Regions from separate parts of the Homo sapiens genome. Here region 2 is linked to region 1. Evidence: promoter capture Hi-C in human tissues and cell types (Jung and others, 2019). All regions are on one chromosome and are shown on one strand. The core of a region is centred on a gene start or on the middle of the fragment in contact, and the rest is flanking DNA. Distances in the headings are between cores, read along the strand shown.

Region 1 (7,396 bases), core at 1,312-3,811:
AAGGGAGTTAGAGAATAATAGGAAACCTCCATCACATTCAGCTCTGTCCCCCTGTCCCCATGACAGAGCCAGTGCCAGGCCAATTATGAAAGTCTGCCAGCCTCAGCACAATGCTTTGAAAGAATGCGCATGTGATCTCAAGAGGGTCCTGATAATATCCCTGTTGAGTGAGACATACATGAGGGCAATCATAGTAAAGAACAAGGTTCAAGTCAGACAGACAGACAGACCTGGGTTTGAGTCCATAATAATACGACTTCTCCCTTTCCCTTCTTTCCTTCCTTCCTTTTCCCTTTCCCTTTCCCTTCCCTCCTTCTTTCCTTCCTTCCTTCCTTCTTTTTCTTTCTTTCTCTCTCTCTCCCTCCCTCTTTCTTTCTTTTTTTTTTTTTTTGACGGAGTCTGGCTCTGTCGCCCAGGCTGGAGTGCAGCCGCACGATCTCGGCTCACTGCAAGCTCCGCCTCCTGGGTTCATGCCATTCTCCTGCCTCAGCCTCCCGAGTAGCTGGGACTACAGGCACCTGCCACCATGCCCGGCTAATTTTTTGTATTTTTAGTAGAGACGGGGTTTCACCGTGTTAGCCAGGATGGTCTCGATCTCGTGATCCCCCACTCTCGGCCTCCCAAAGTGCTGGGATTACAGGCGTGAGCCACCCCGCCCAGCCGACTTCCCTTTCAAGTAAGATTGCTGTGTGGATTAAAAGAGAAAAATCAGTGTGAAATTTATCAGCAGTGTTTGAAGCTCTATACATGAGACCATTTTTTGGCTGTACTCTCTTTATAGGTAGGAGGAGACTTGTCAGAGGTCACACAGAAGCCTAGTGGCAGAGCCAGGACAAGAACCCATTACCTTGACATTAGAGTAATGAAACCCTCCATGAGCCCCCATCGTTCCACAACTCTGAAATTCCAACATCTGTTTGCTGTTGGGCTTTTATTTAGTTGGCAAACACTGATTTGCATTTAATGCCACTCCCTTGACTAGGTACTGGGGATATGGAGGAGGATAAGACATAAAGATAATCACCATGGGCCAGGTGTGGTGGCTCACTCGTGTAATCCCAGCACTTTGTGAGGCCGAGGCAGGCGGATCACCCGAGGTCGGGAGTTCGAGACCAGCCTCACCAACATGGAGAAACCCCATCTCTACTAAAAATACAAAATTAGCCGGGCCTGGTGGCGCATGCCTGTAATCCGAGCTACTTGGGAGGCTGAGGCAGGAGAATAGCTTGAACCCAGGAGGTGGAGGTTGTAGTGAGCCGAGATCGTGCCATTGCACTCCAGCCTGGGCAACAAGAGCAAAGCTCTGTCAAAAAAAAAAAAAAAGAAAAAAAGAAAGAAAGAAAAGAAATCAGATGAAGGTGCTAAGTGGGCCCTTTGTTTTTCTCATTCTACAGCCTCAACCCTCCCTTGGCTTTATTTATGTTTTGCTGATGACATTCAAATCTACATCTTCACAGCAATACTTTCCTACCTTCAAACTAGAATATCCAATTTTTTCCTGCGAGTCTCCATACAACCAGAATAGAATTTGTTGTTGTCTCCCACAAATCTGCTTCTTCTCTGATGAACCCCACCCAGGTACCCAAGCCTTGAGTACTTGTTTCCTACATCTCACTCTCCCCAAATCCTATGGATTTTGCTGCCTAAGTATATAGTACTTTGAATTCCTTTATTTATCTCCATTTCCAGAGTTTGTAGCCTAGCCCCGGCCACTGTCATCTCTTCCCTGGGCGTGAAACAGATTCAGAGTCAGGTGTCTTCAGTGACCAGGATATGTTGGCCTCTGTCCCCCTTCCAGGACTTGGCACGTGCTGTCTTCTCTTTGGAACTCTCGCCACCACTCCTGATCTGGGCTCGCGATTTCGTTCCGGAAGCTGTCCCTGTTCTCCGCCCCGGGCTTCTACATTCTACAGCCCATCACTTTTCCCTGTACCGTAGGAACAGTGTTTGTCTTGATCACTTCTCTACCTAGTAATTAGCCGCGCTTAGTACTGTATTCATTCATCACATGAATGAATGAAGAATGAATGACAGACGGGTCAGATCACCGAAAGCCTCAAAACGCCCACAAGGAAATCGGTCGCACTTTATCGCCAGGACTTAGGCCAGTGCCTGGAAAGGCCCCGAGGCAACGACACGGTCGGCTGCCCAGGCTGGCCCCACTTCACGGGCCCGCTCGCTTCCACCCTGGACAAAGTTTGGCCCTAATCGCTCCCCGTTGTAGCTCTAACTGGCTCCAGTCTCACTGGCCTACATGCCCCGACACCGGCCCGATCTAAAGGCAGAAGATCCGGAAAGTCTGGGATCAGTGCGCGCCAGCCCAACCCCCTCACTAGACACTAGTTGCCCCGCTCCTACGAAGGGTTTCAGCCACAAGGTCTCCCGGCCTCCGGAATTCCAATCTCTTGCCAGACCCCTCCCTCACATCGTTCCTCCCGAGGAAACGTGACCCATGCCGGCCGCCGTGGCCGCCCCAACCTACTAGTTCGCCTTTCCTCCGCGAACGGTTCTCCCGGCCCTCGCGCCGCTACCCAGGCTCAGGGGGCGGGGCCTCGATGCGACCCAGTGCGCTTGCGCTGACCGCCCCGGCTAGGCTTAAAGAGCAGGCGGGGCAGAGACCCATACCTTTGGCGCTGAGTCGAGGCCAGGAAGGGGCGGTCGATGAGAGGGCGGCCTTAGCATTAGGAGTGCGTCGGCTGCACCCTGGCGGATGGACCTTGGGAAGGAGGGGAGGGGACCATCGGGGTCGGCGGGGAGCTACGGGTATGCATAGCTCATAGAGCGTCAGAGCTGACGACGACTAGTGGAAGATGGGGAAACTAATGCTCAGAGCGGGACAGTCACTACCTCAGGGGCACACAATTGATAAGGGTGGGGGTGGCCGTGGTAATGGAGGCCCCAAGGAGGGGCAGGGGCCCATAGTACGTCAGGGGCTGAGCCTGTATTAGAACCCAGGCTTGTTTCCCAGCCCAGCCAAGTCCCAGAAAAATCCCCCTGATTTTATCTATTTTTTTTTAACCTGGGATACCAGCAGGGAAAGCATTAGAGGCAAAAGGAAAGGATTTTCATTTTTCCAGGAATGCTGAAGTCAGGACTGTTTGAGGGGAGCCCTGTGTTTCTCAGACTCTCTTGTACCGTTTACATCAGGATCTGGGGCAGTTTTTAAAAATATGCGGATTCATGATTCCTACCCCCCACCTCATTGCTTGGCAGCCCCCAGGTGCCTTCCCTGTTTCTTCCTTCTGGGTTGTGATAGGCTTGTCTGCAGTCCGAAGCACCTGATACGAATTTTAGTTAAATGGAATGTATCAGTCCAGCTTCTAGGGAATTAACCATAAATAAGACACAGCCACTGCTTTCAGTCTGATAAGATAGGCAATAAACTGCCTTTCTGAAGGAATCAGGGATGGTTTTTGGGGTCTTGAAGGATGGATAGGAAGGTATAGGTAGTGAAGGAGGTAGGGGTAGAGGTGAGAGGCTGGGATGGGGACAGTGTTCCAAATTGCAGGAACAAAAGCAGCAAAGGCTGGCTGGGTGCAGTGGCTCAGACCTGTAATCCCAGCACTTTGAGAGGCCGAGGCAGGTGGATTACTTGAGCTCAGGAGTTGGAGACCAGGCTGGGCAACATGGCGAAACCCCGTCTCTACTAGAAATACAAGAATTAGCCGGGTGTGTTGGCCCGTGCCTGTAATCCCAGCTACTCGGGAGGCTGCGGCGTGAGAATTCTTGAGCCCCGGAGACGGAGGCTGCTGTGAGCTGAGATCACGCTGCAGCACTCCTGCCTGGGTGACAGCGTGAGACCCTGTCCTAAAAACAAAACAAACGAGCAGCGAAGGCATATAATTCTGAGGGTTGCTCGGCTTGTTTTACAGACACTGAGGAGTTTGGTGTGGATAATGAGGAAGGGCCTGAGGGTTGCAACAGGACTTAGGCGCTTAGGCTTGGAGAGGTAGCCTCAGACGCCAGTTCCACTGAGCAACAGGAGCTAAGGGCTTTAAGCAGGGGAAGGACATGGTTAGTTTTGTGTGTTAGGCACTGGTTACAGCGTGACAAATGGTTTGGAAGTGGGGAGATGGGCCAGAGAAAGCAGAGAGAGTTAAGATGTGAGATCATGAGGCTGTAGCCAGTGCAGCAGCTGTGGAGATGGAGCGAAGCGAACAGATCAAAGAAATTTAGGAGTGAGAACTCCTAGTGATCGTAAATCAGTGGCCCAACCCAGGGACCAAGATCCTTTTGACTCTTTTTTTTTTTTTTTTTTTTTGAGACGGAGTTTTCGTTGTTGTTGCCCAGGCTGGAGTGCAGTGGCACGATCTCAGCTCACTGCAACCTCCACTTCCCAGGTTCAAGCAATTCTCCTGCCTCAGCCTCCCAAGTAGCTGGGATTACAGGCGTCCACCACCACACCCGGCTAATTTTTGTATTTTTGGTAGAGACAGGGTTTCACCATGTTGGCCAGATTGGTCTGAAACTCTTGAGCTCAGGTGATCCACCCGCCCCAGCCTCCCAGAGTGCTAGGATTACAGGCGTTAGCCACTGCGCCCGGCCCCTTTTGACTCTTTAAATAAACCATGTACATTATCTGACTACAGGACAGGCTGAGTCCTCCAGTCTCCCGTGTGTGGTCACGGGATGGGGGGAGATGGTGGCAGATAGGTGTCTGGTTATTCCCAGAACAATGTTTCCTGATGTCCTTTCCTCGTTGGCTTTTGTACCTGAGGGGATAAGCAGCTGTTAACTAGAATAGGCCCCAGGTGGCAGGAAGAGGCTCCTGGGTCAACCAGGAACAAAAGAAGCTATTTCTAGTGCAGCATGAAATTAAAAATCAAAAGCATGACCCAGGGTTCTCTGTGCAGGTTCCCCTCTTCCAAGACGGGTGCCAAGTGATGAGTATCAGGTGTCTATGGTGAGATTTGGGGAGGATCCCAGACCTTAACAGCCCTTTGGTTGAAACCTCTCACAATGTGGCAGGTAAGATGTCTTTATTCCCATTTTGTAGATGTGGCAGCTGAGCCTCAGAAGTTACGTGACTTGTTCAAGGTGACCCAGTTTGTGGTAGGACTGGGAGTGAAGGACTCTTGACTAAGAATCTTTCCAGGGAGCGTTTGCCCTTTCTGCACTCTCTGCCTGGGTGCTTTCCTCCAAAATCCTGGCATGACTGGCTCCTTTGGTCATTCAGATGTTTCATCCCTGGAGGCTGCCCCACCCTATAAGTCTATCACGTTATCCTTTTCTTTTTTTTGAGATGGAGTCTCACTCTGTTGCCCAGGCTGGAGTGCAGTGGTGCGATCTTGGCTCACTGCAACCTCTGTCTCCTGGGTTCAAACAATTCTCCTGCCTCAGTCTCCTGAGTAGCTGGGATTACAGGCACGTGCCACCATGCCCGGCTAATTTTTGTATTTTTAGGAGAGACAGGGTTTCACCATGTTGATCAGGCTGGTCTCAAACTCCTGACCTTGTGATCCGTCCGCCTCTGCCTCTCAAAGTGCTGGGATTACAGGCGTGAGCCACCGTGCCCGGCCTTGTATTTTCTTCATAGCAGTTATTCATATCTGAAATTGTTGCTTTTATTTGTTTGCTGTTTCCCTCTGCTAGAATGTGAGCCCCATGAAAATGGGCCATGTCTGTCTTGTTCACCACTTTACCCCCAGGACCTGACTGGTGCCTGCCACGTGGCAGATGCTCAATAATATTTGCTAACTGATGGAAATAGTTTGGGGAGAGAGAAAGAGAAGGAAACCAACATTTAATGAAAGCTGAGGATGTTTCAAGTACTTCTCACAAATTACCTCATTTAATCCCTTCACAGCCTTTCAAGGTAGAAATCGTATCTCCATTGGGTGAATAAGAAACCATGCTAAGTCAGGTCAAGTCTGTGGTTTGTTACTTTTGAGGCTATAGACTCGTCTGAGATCCATTAGTATAAAATTTTGCATCAGCTACGTGGAGGAATTCACAGACCTTCTCAGGCTCACTTGGGGATCTCAGATCAAGACACATAGGATTGGGGAACTTGCCCAGGGTCTTTTTGGCCCCAGGCCTTTGCTGGATCCTCACTCCCTGGCAAGGATGGAGTCCATGTAGTGGACTGTAGGGAACCTGCTGAAGATTCCGGAGCAGAGGGAGATGATTTGCCCTGAGCCTCTGGTGTCTCAGACCTGAGTTTGAATCCTGACTGTGCAGAAGTCATCTCACCTCTCCGAATCCCACTTTCCTCATTTTATTTTTTTTCTTTCTTTCTTTTTTTTTTTTTTGAGATGGAGTCTCTCTCTGTCACCCAGGCTGGAGTGCAGTGGCACGATCTTGGCTCACTGCAACCTCTGCCTCCCGGGTTCAGGCAATTCTCCTGCCTCAGTCTCCCGAGTAGCTGGGATTACAGGCACATGCCACCATGCCCAGCTAATTTTTTGTATTTTTAGTGGAGACAGGGTTTCACCTTGCTGTCCAGGCTGGTCTCGAACTCCTGACCTCGTGATCTGCCTGCCTCAGCCTCCCAAAGTGCTGGGATTACAGGTGTGAGCCACCGCGCCTGGCTTTCCTCACTTTCAAAGTGAAATCTGTTTTTTCCTAACAATAACTACCCTTTATTGATCTGGTCGCTAAGTGTCAGGTACTTGGCTAATGACTTTACAGTCGTTATCTCACTTTCCCTTACCTCCCTATCACATCAGTATCTTTATAGCCTCCATTTTACAGCCGGGGAAAGGAAGGCTTGAAGAGGTATCCTGACTTGCCAAAGATCACAGCAGCAGTGTCAGCCATGGTGTTCCCACATATGTACCTTGGGACATGCCATGGGCTCAGACTTCCCAAAGCTAACTGTTGAATCAATTTCATCCTCTGTTCTTGGGGTTTGTGGGAACATTTGGGTCTGAATTAGGTGAAAAAAGGTATGCAGGGATGTACTTCACTGTGAATGGAGGCCAATCCCTTAATTTTGTGTCTTGCCTTTCTCCCTGCGAGGGCCTCTCTCCAAGTCTGGACTGTGGGTTTTTTTTGTTTTTGTTTTTTTGAGATGGAGTCTTGCTTTGTAGCCCAGGCTAGAGTGCAGTGGCGCCATCTTGGCTCACTGCAAGCTCCGCCTCCCGTGTTCATGCCATTCTCCTACCTCAGCCTCCCGAGTAGCTGGGACTACAGGCGCCTGCCACCACGCCCGCCTAATTTTTTCTATTTTTAGTAGAGATGGGGTTTCACCGTGTTAGCCAGGATGGTCTCGATCTCCTGACCTTGTGATCCACCCGCCTCAGCCTCCCAAAGTGCTGGGATTACAGGCGGGAGCCACCGCACCCAGCCACTGGACTGTGCCTTTTGATTGGAACATCTCTGTCAGCCCCAGGGTCTGCATCACACATGGTCTGCATCTGTGCACATGGCTACTGTCTCTTTTTAGCAGTGATAT
Region 2 (7,396 bases), core at 1,942-4,441, 1.2 Mb after region 1:
ATCAGTATTCATATTACAATGGTATAAAATTAGGTATGAACATAGATACAGATTGGAAGAAAACAGGTAGAAAATGGAGTTCCAGCAAGCATATGGGAAGTGAATAAAACAGAAAAACAAATATTTCTTTACTGTTATATTTACTTTTCTTTAGTTTTAATTACAAAAAAAATTTGTGGAAAATCTAATAATTCAGAAGTGTAGGCCAGGCACGGTGGCTCATGCCTATAATCCCAGCACTCTGGGAGGCTGAGGCGGGTAGATCACCTGAGGTCAGGAGTTCAAGACCAGCCTGGCCAACATGGTGAAACCCCATTTCTACTAAAAATACAAAAAGTTAGCCGGGCATGGTGGCTGGCGCCTGTAATCCCAGCTACTCAGGAGGCTGAGGCAAGAGAATCTCTTGCACCCGGAAGGCAGAGGTTGTGGGGCAGTGAGCCGAGATTGCGCCATTGCACTCCAGCCTGGGTGACAGAGCGAGACTCCGTCACAAAAAAAAAAAAGAAAGAAAGAAAGAAAAAAAGTGTATTCTCCCCTTAGATCCCCAAACAAATCCTACTCTCCAGTCGTAGCTAATAACAGCATGTTGTGTATCCTTCCAGGATATTTTCTATACCAACATAAACATACAAACCAGAATGGGATCATACATTGCATTATTGTTTTACAACTTGCATTTTTCATGTAACTACACATTGACATCTTTTTATGTCAGTAGATATAAAATCTATCTCAAAAATTTTTGCAATAGGTATGTTATACTTTCATAATTAAATTTTTAATGGATAAACCCTACTAATTTGGCCAGCCCCCCTGTTGATTGACATTTGAAGTTGTTTCCAATTTTACGGTATTCTAAGTAACGCTAACTGAACTCTAACAGTATTTAGACAATTAGTGAAAATCAAGTGAGAGAAGGAGTCAGAAACCATGAGACCGTGAGAGTTGCCCTCAAAGGTCTGCTGCTTCTCCCTTCTCCTGTTCCCTCCTCTCCTCACTGGAGCCTGGGGGAACTGGTCTTGGAGGAGGCCATCTCTCTGTCACCCTCAAAAGGTGGTGATGTCCCAGGGAAAGACCCTTTCTTTCACCCACCCAGTATGGAGCTCTCCTAGGAAATTTTCAAATTCTCTTAGGATGCTCTAAGCTGCTGCTTGGGCTGTGCAGCTGCCCACACCCAGACTGTCCTTGGACAAGCTTTCTACCTTCTCTGTACCTCAGTTTGTCCATCTGTCTGGTGGTGATCAGAGCCATTGCTGCCACTGAGTGTCTTCTATATGTCAAATACTGTGCTAGAGCAAGCTTCATGTGCATTATCTGTTTTTCTATTTTTTCTTTTTATTTTATTCTTCTTATTTTTTTGTTTGTTTGTTTTTTGGGTTTTTTTGTTTTGTTTTTGAGATGGAGTCTTGCTGTGTTGCCCAGGCTGGAGTGCAGTGGCAGGATCTCAGCTCACTGCAACCTCCGCCTCCCCGGTTCAAGCAATTCTCCTGCCTTGGCCTCCCAAGTAGCTGGGATTACAGGCACGTGCCACCTGCCTGGCTAGTTCTTGTATTTTTAGTAGAGACAGGTTATCACTGTGTTGGCCAGGCTGGTCTCGAACTCCTGACCTCAGGTGATCTGCCTGCCTCAGCCTCCCAAAGTGCTGGGATTACAGGCCCAGTCGTTATTCTTGTTTTTTTAAAGACAGCCTGTCACTCTGTCACCCAGGCTGGAGTGCAGTGGCATAGTCACAGCTCACTGTGACCTCAAACTCCCAGGCTCTAGTGATCCTCCTGCCTCAGCCTCCTGAGTAGCTGGGACTACAGGTGCACCCCACCATGCCCGGCTAATTTGGGGGGGGCACAGGGTAAAGACAGTGTCTCGCTCTGTTGCCCAGACTGCTCTCAAACTCCTGGGCTCAAGCAATCCTCCCTCCTTGGCCTTCCAAAGTGCTGAGATTACAGGCGTGAGCCACCACACCCTGCCTATCTCATTTAATTCTCACTATACACCTTGGAGGTGCAGGGGATAGTCTTCTCAATAGAGGTTAAGTAACCTGCCCAAGGTCACCAAGCCTGTGGCATCAGGATTCCAGCTCTGGCTCATAAGCCCATGTCTGTAACTGCTGTTTCCTGCCCACTCTCAACAGTGGCTAATTGGTGAGGTCCAAGCAAAATGATTATAAAAAGATCCTTTAAGTTGTAAAGTGCCCTGCATGTGGGAGGGATTGATACTGCCGTTATTATTTCTACATCCAGAGCAACAGTAGCTTTGGTTATATGGCTTACAGCAAGTTGGAGGTCGTGGGATGTAGCAGCATTGAGTGGGGAGAGCACTGGACTGTGAGCCAGCAGACTTGAGTCCTAGTCCTGGCTCTCCTTGAAACTGACTAGCCATGTGGCCTTGGCCACTAAGCCGCCTGGGAAATAAGCTCACCTACTCCGTGTGGCCCTTGTGCAGCTCAAATAAGATAAAGCCCAAAAGACAGCCAGCATGTTGCCCAGCTCTCGGAGGATACCCTGCTAACGGGAGGTCTCTCTCTGCCTTCTGCATCGTCATCAGGATGGGCCAGGTGGGACGCATGTCTCCGTTTTAATGCTGTTACTCTGCAGTTCTGTGCTGTCACGTGGTCCCCAGCCCACCACTGCACATCAGCCTGAGGCTCCCTAGTGGCCCGTGAAGCTTTTGGGCAAGAAGCCAAGGCTGATGGGTGGTGGCCTTTTCACATTGTTTGGTCTAAAGTGGTGTCCGTGGGTACTGCAAACCTCTGACGAATTGCCGTCTCCCCACTGCCATGTACAAATCCAAGCACCAGACAGGATGACTGCAGACTCAGCTCCCTTTTTGATCCTTCTTGCCTGGCTGTGAAAGTGGCTTGAGGTCTCAGAGGCAGCTCTCTCAGCCTGTACCCTCCATCCTTTCATTCACGTCCATGTAGACATTATCACTCAGGGAAGTGAGTGTTCCATACTGGGGAAGTCCCCTTGGGAAGGAAGTCACATCATCTCCAGCAAGTGAGAGAAAGAATAAGCCCTAATAGGCACTCTTTCTGTTTTTTTTTTTTTTTCTTGTAATTCTTCTTTTTTCTTTTCTGACTCCGAAAGTAATACATGCTCATAGTAGAAAATTGAAAAATACGGAGAAAAAGGCCCCTATTTCCTTCTCCAAGGGAAGGCTATTGTTAACATTTTAGTCTTTGGACTTAATTGGAGAGTAATATTTCTGGAGCAAATATTTCTAATATTCTGGTATGTGTTTAGTGTTTTACAGGCATGATCTGATTCCATTTTCACAGTAAGCCTGTGAGGTATGTAAGTTTATCATCATGACTTTACAGATGAAGAAACTGAGGCACAAAGAGGTTAAGGGGCTTCCTGACGGTTCCCTTGCCTTCCTTGACTTCTTAGCTTATTCTGCCTCTTCTCAGGCTCCCCTTATCCTAAGTGAGCATCAGGTGGTGGATCAGTCAGATTCTGACAGGAAACAGAATTCCACTCAGATGCTTCACCTGAGGAGATGTTAATAAAGATGTGAGCAGGGTGAGGGGAACCCACATGGGATGGTGAGGCACCCACAAACTAACAGTGACAGAAGGCATTACTAGCTCTCGGCCTGAATGAGCAGGAGGGAGTGGTGTTACCTGAGTTCCGTGACTGGTAGAGGTGGGCAGGGAGCTGTCGCAGAGGGGCTCAGCCACCACCAGGACCACAGAGAGAGAAATTGGGGAAGATACACCCAGGATCTCTCTCCTTCCACCTTCTGAATTCCTGCCAGTGCCTTCTTCTTTATTATTTTTTTTTTAAGACAGAGTCTCTGTCGTCCAGGCTAGAGTGCAGTAGCATGATCTTGGCTCACTGCAACTTCCACCTCCCAGGTCTGCCTCAGCCTCCCTAGTAGCTGGGACTACAGGCGCCTGCCACCACACCCAGTTAATTTTTATATTTTTAGTAGAGACAGGGTTTCACCTTGTTGGCCAGGCTGGTCTCAAACTCCTGACCCCAAGTCATCCACCCACCTTGGCCTCCCAAAATGCTGGGATTGCAGGCGTGAGCCACTGTGCCCGGCCCCTGCCAGTGTCTTCTATTGGCCAAATGGAACCAGAAACCAGGAGGCAAGGGAGCTCAAGGGACAGTCCAATGGGCCAGCCTCCTGCTTCTTCAAGCAGGTCATGGATCTGGGGGTGCACATGGAGACTAACAACCCAAGCGACATGGTTGTAGGGAGATGGGAGAGACATGTCCTCTGACTTCCCAGAAAGAGTTGTCTTAGTAACTGACTATTAAAAACATCATTCAAAACAAGAGACTTTTTTTCTGCCTGGGAGTCTCTTGGTGTTTTGGTGTCTCCTCCCTCCCCTGCCCCCCATCTCCTCTCTCACCTGGTTCAGAATTTCCAAGAACACCTGGGCAACAGTCTTTGGTGTCATCGGTGTGCAGGGTTTAGAAGAGACAACCTTGCTTGCATGATACATGTGGCTGTGTGTGTTCTCATGTTGTTTCACTGCTGTGCCTATGCATACAAAGACATGCTTCTTGTGTACATGTCATAAGCATCTATAACATAGTCTCCTCTGTATCCAGCAGAATATTCACTTTTTATTTATTTATTTATCTAATTTTATTTTTTTGAGATGGAGTCTTGCTCTGTCTCCAGGCTGGAGTTCAGTGGCATGATCTCGGCTCATTTCAACCTCTGCTGCCGAGGTTCAAGCAATTCTCCTGTCTCAGGCTCCCGAGTAGCTGGGACTACAGGAGCCTGCCACCATGCCCGGCTAATTTTTGTATTTTTAGTAGAGATAGGGTTTCACGATATTGGTTAGGCTGGTCTCGAACTCCTGACCTCAGGTGATCCACCCGCCTCACCCTCCCAAAATGCTGGGATTACAGGTGTGAGCCACTGCGCCTGGCTATTTATTTATTTTTGAGACAGAATCTCGTTCTGTCACCCAGGCTGGAGTGCAGTGGTGCGATCTGAGCTCACTACAACCTCTGCCTCCCAGTTTCAAGCAATTCTTCTGCCTCAGCCTCCCAGGTAGCTGGGATTACAGGCACGCACCACCACACTTGGCTAATTTTTGTATTTTTTCTAGGAACAAAGTTTCACCATGTTGGCTGGGTTGGTCTTGAACTCCTGGCCTCAAGTGATTTGCCTGCCTCGGCCTCCCAAAGTGCTGGGATTACAGGCATGAGCCACCGCGCCTGGCCCAGGACATTAACTTTTGTATCTCAAAGTCCTCCCATTCTCTGTAATAGCCTTGATCTCCATGGCCTTCCTCTGATGTGGACAGGGTCTCTCATCCCTGTTTGACACATGAGGAAACATGCTCAGAAAGAGGAAGTGGCTGGGTGTGGTGGCTCACGCCTGTAATCCCAGCACTTTGGGGGGCCAAGGTGGGTGGATCACCTGAGGTCAGGAGTTCAAGACCAGCCTGGCCAACATGGTGAAACCCTGTCTCTACTAAAAATACAAAAATTAGCTGGGCATGGTGGCATGCACCTGTAATCTTAGCTACTCGGGAGGCTGAGGCAGGAGAATTGCTTGAACCAGGGAGGCAGAGGTTGCAGTGAGCCAAGATTGTGCCACTGCACTCCAGCCTGGGCGACAGAGCGAGAATCCATCTCAAAAAAGAAGAAAGAAAGAGGAAGTGACCTGCCCAAAGCTGATCAGATCGGAAGTGGAAGCACTGAAGCAGCAGTGGTCCCAGTTCTGAGTTCAGCTCTTCCCAGTATATTTCCTTTTCAATCTTGGGAAGTCTTTCTTTAGCCAGCCCCAACCCTGGGAGAAATCAGTACAGCATGAGCCCCCTGAGGTTGCTGGAATGCCATACAGTGGGAAGAACTCTGGAGTCAGAGATACCTGGCACAGCCTTATGACTTTGGACAAATCCATTTGCCTCTTTGCACGTGTGCATCCTCATTAGTAAAATGAGGAGAATAATATCAGGACTTTGGATGGAAACATCAGGTGTTGAGATAAAATAAATCATCAGGAGAGGCAGGCTGGCTGGTAGCCACAAAGGCTCCCAAGGTGAATGCAGCCCAGGTCTCCATCCTCAGTTGGGTAGACTAGAAATTGTCTCTTTGTGTTCTATCCATCAGTTATCCATGTGTTCAACCTTTTATCCATCTACCCCTCCATCTGATGCCAAATCTGCTGAATGTGAATTCTGGCACTGCTGTTTACTAGCTGTGTGACCTGGAGCAAGTTCCTTAACTTTTCTGCTTCAGTTTCTTCTTTTGTAAAATAGGGATAATAAGAGTACCTATTACCCATTATAGGTTATTGTGAAGATGAAGTGAGTTCATTGATGTAAAGTACTCAGATCAGCGCCTAGCAAATAGCAGACTACAAATGATAATGTTGTTTTTATTTATCAAGAACTGCGCTGAGCCCTGGGGATAATGGCTAACCAGACAAAATTCTTATCTTTATGGAGTTTATTTTGGAAGGAGGGATAAAAAGAAATAAGTAAATCAATCAATGATAGAAGATCAGTTTGTGATAATTACTGTGAAAACCGACCACCCAGCTGGGCGTGGTGACTCACACCTGTAATCCTAGCACTTTGGGAGGCCAAGGCGAGCAGATTGGCTGAGCCCAAGAATTCGAAACCCAATCTCTACTAAAATACAAAATAATTAGCTGGGCGTGGCTGTGTGCACCTGTAGTCCCACCTACTGGGGAGGCCAAGGCAGGAGAATTGCTTGAACCTGGGAGGTGGAGGTTGCAGTGAGCTGAGATCATGCCACTGCACTCCAGTCTGGGCAACAGAACGAGACTGTCTCCAAAAAAAAAGAAAGAGAAAACCAACCACCCAACCCAGCATGCTTGCTTAATGGATTCGAAGTTTCTGTTTGGGGTGATAAGAATTTTTGGAAATAGATAGTGGTGATTTTTGCACAACATTGTGAATGTAATTAATGCCTCTGAATTGTTACCCTTAACAATGGTTAACAATGGCAAAATGAAACAAAAACAAAACAATCTAGCATGCTGTAACCAAAAAAACAGGGGAAAGGACCTAAATAAATTAGACAGGGTGGTCAAGGGGCACACAGATTCACAATCTGAAGGTGGGAGCTGCCAAGCTGTCCATGCAGAGGGAACATTACAGACTATCATTAAGGACAAAGCCCCAAAGCCTCGCACAGTCGAAGAACAGACGGAAAGCCAATGTGACAGGCTCATGGTGATGGTGGCGGCTTGGGGAGGGAATAGGGGACCAGTAGTGGTGGGAGCTGATGCTGAATAGATGGGCAACAGCCATATACAGAGGTCTGTAGCTTTGATAAAGAGTTTGTGTTTTATTTTAATGGGAGGCCCTTGGGGGTTTTAAAGAGGGCATCTGGCTGGGTGCAGTGGGTCACACCTGTAATCCCAGCACTTTAGGAGGCTGAGGCGGGCGGATTGCCTGAGC

Evidence for each region. Contacts are between HindIII fragments. The study calls those that stand out against the background at their distance.
Region 2: a fragment that was not itself captured here is called in contact with the fragment with the promoter of GSS in region 1 in 1 of the 25 tissues and cell types used here (mesenchymal stem cells).

The regions. Positions count from the first base shown.
Region 1 is chr20:34,953,245-34,960,640 of GRCh38, forward strand. GSS (glutathione synthetase) reads right to left here and starts at 2,562. Exons shown (of 13, transcript NM_000178.4): 1 at 2,483-2,562. MYH7B (myosin heavy chain 7B) reads left to right here and starts at 2,624. Exons shown (of 45, transcript NM_020884.7): 1 at 2,624-2,763; 2 at 4,854-4,968. RefSeq lists enhancers at 2,370-2,469, 2,710-2,889. The HindIII fragment of the contact is 12,827 bases long and covers 1-7,396 here.
Region 2 is chr20:36,160,099-36,167,494 of GRCh38, forward strand. All of the region lies in intron 1 of EPB41L1 (erythrocyte membrane protein band 4.1 like 1), which reads left to right. Among named protein-coding and RNA genes, the nearest start is that of EPB41L1-AS1, 8.0 kb to the left of the region's middle. The HindIII fragment of the contact is 5,943 bases long and covers 221-6,163 here.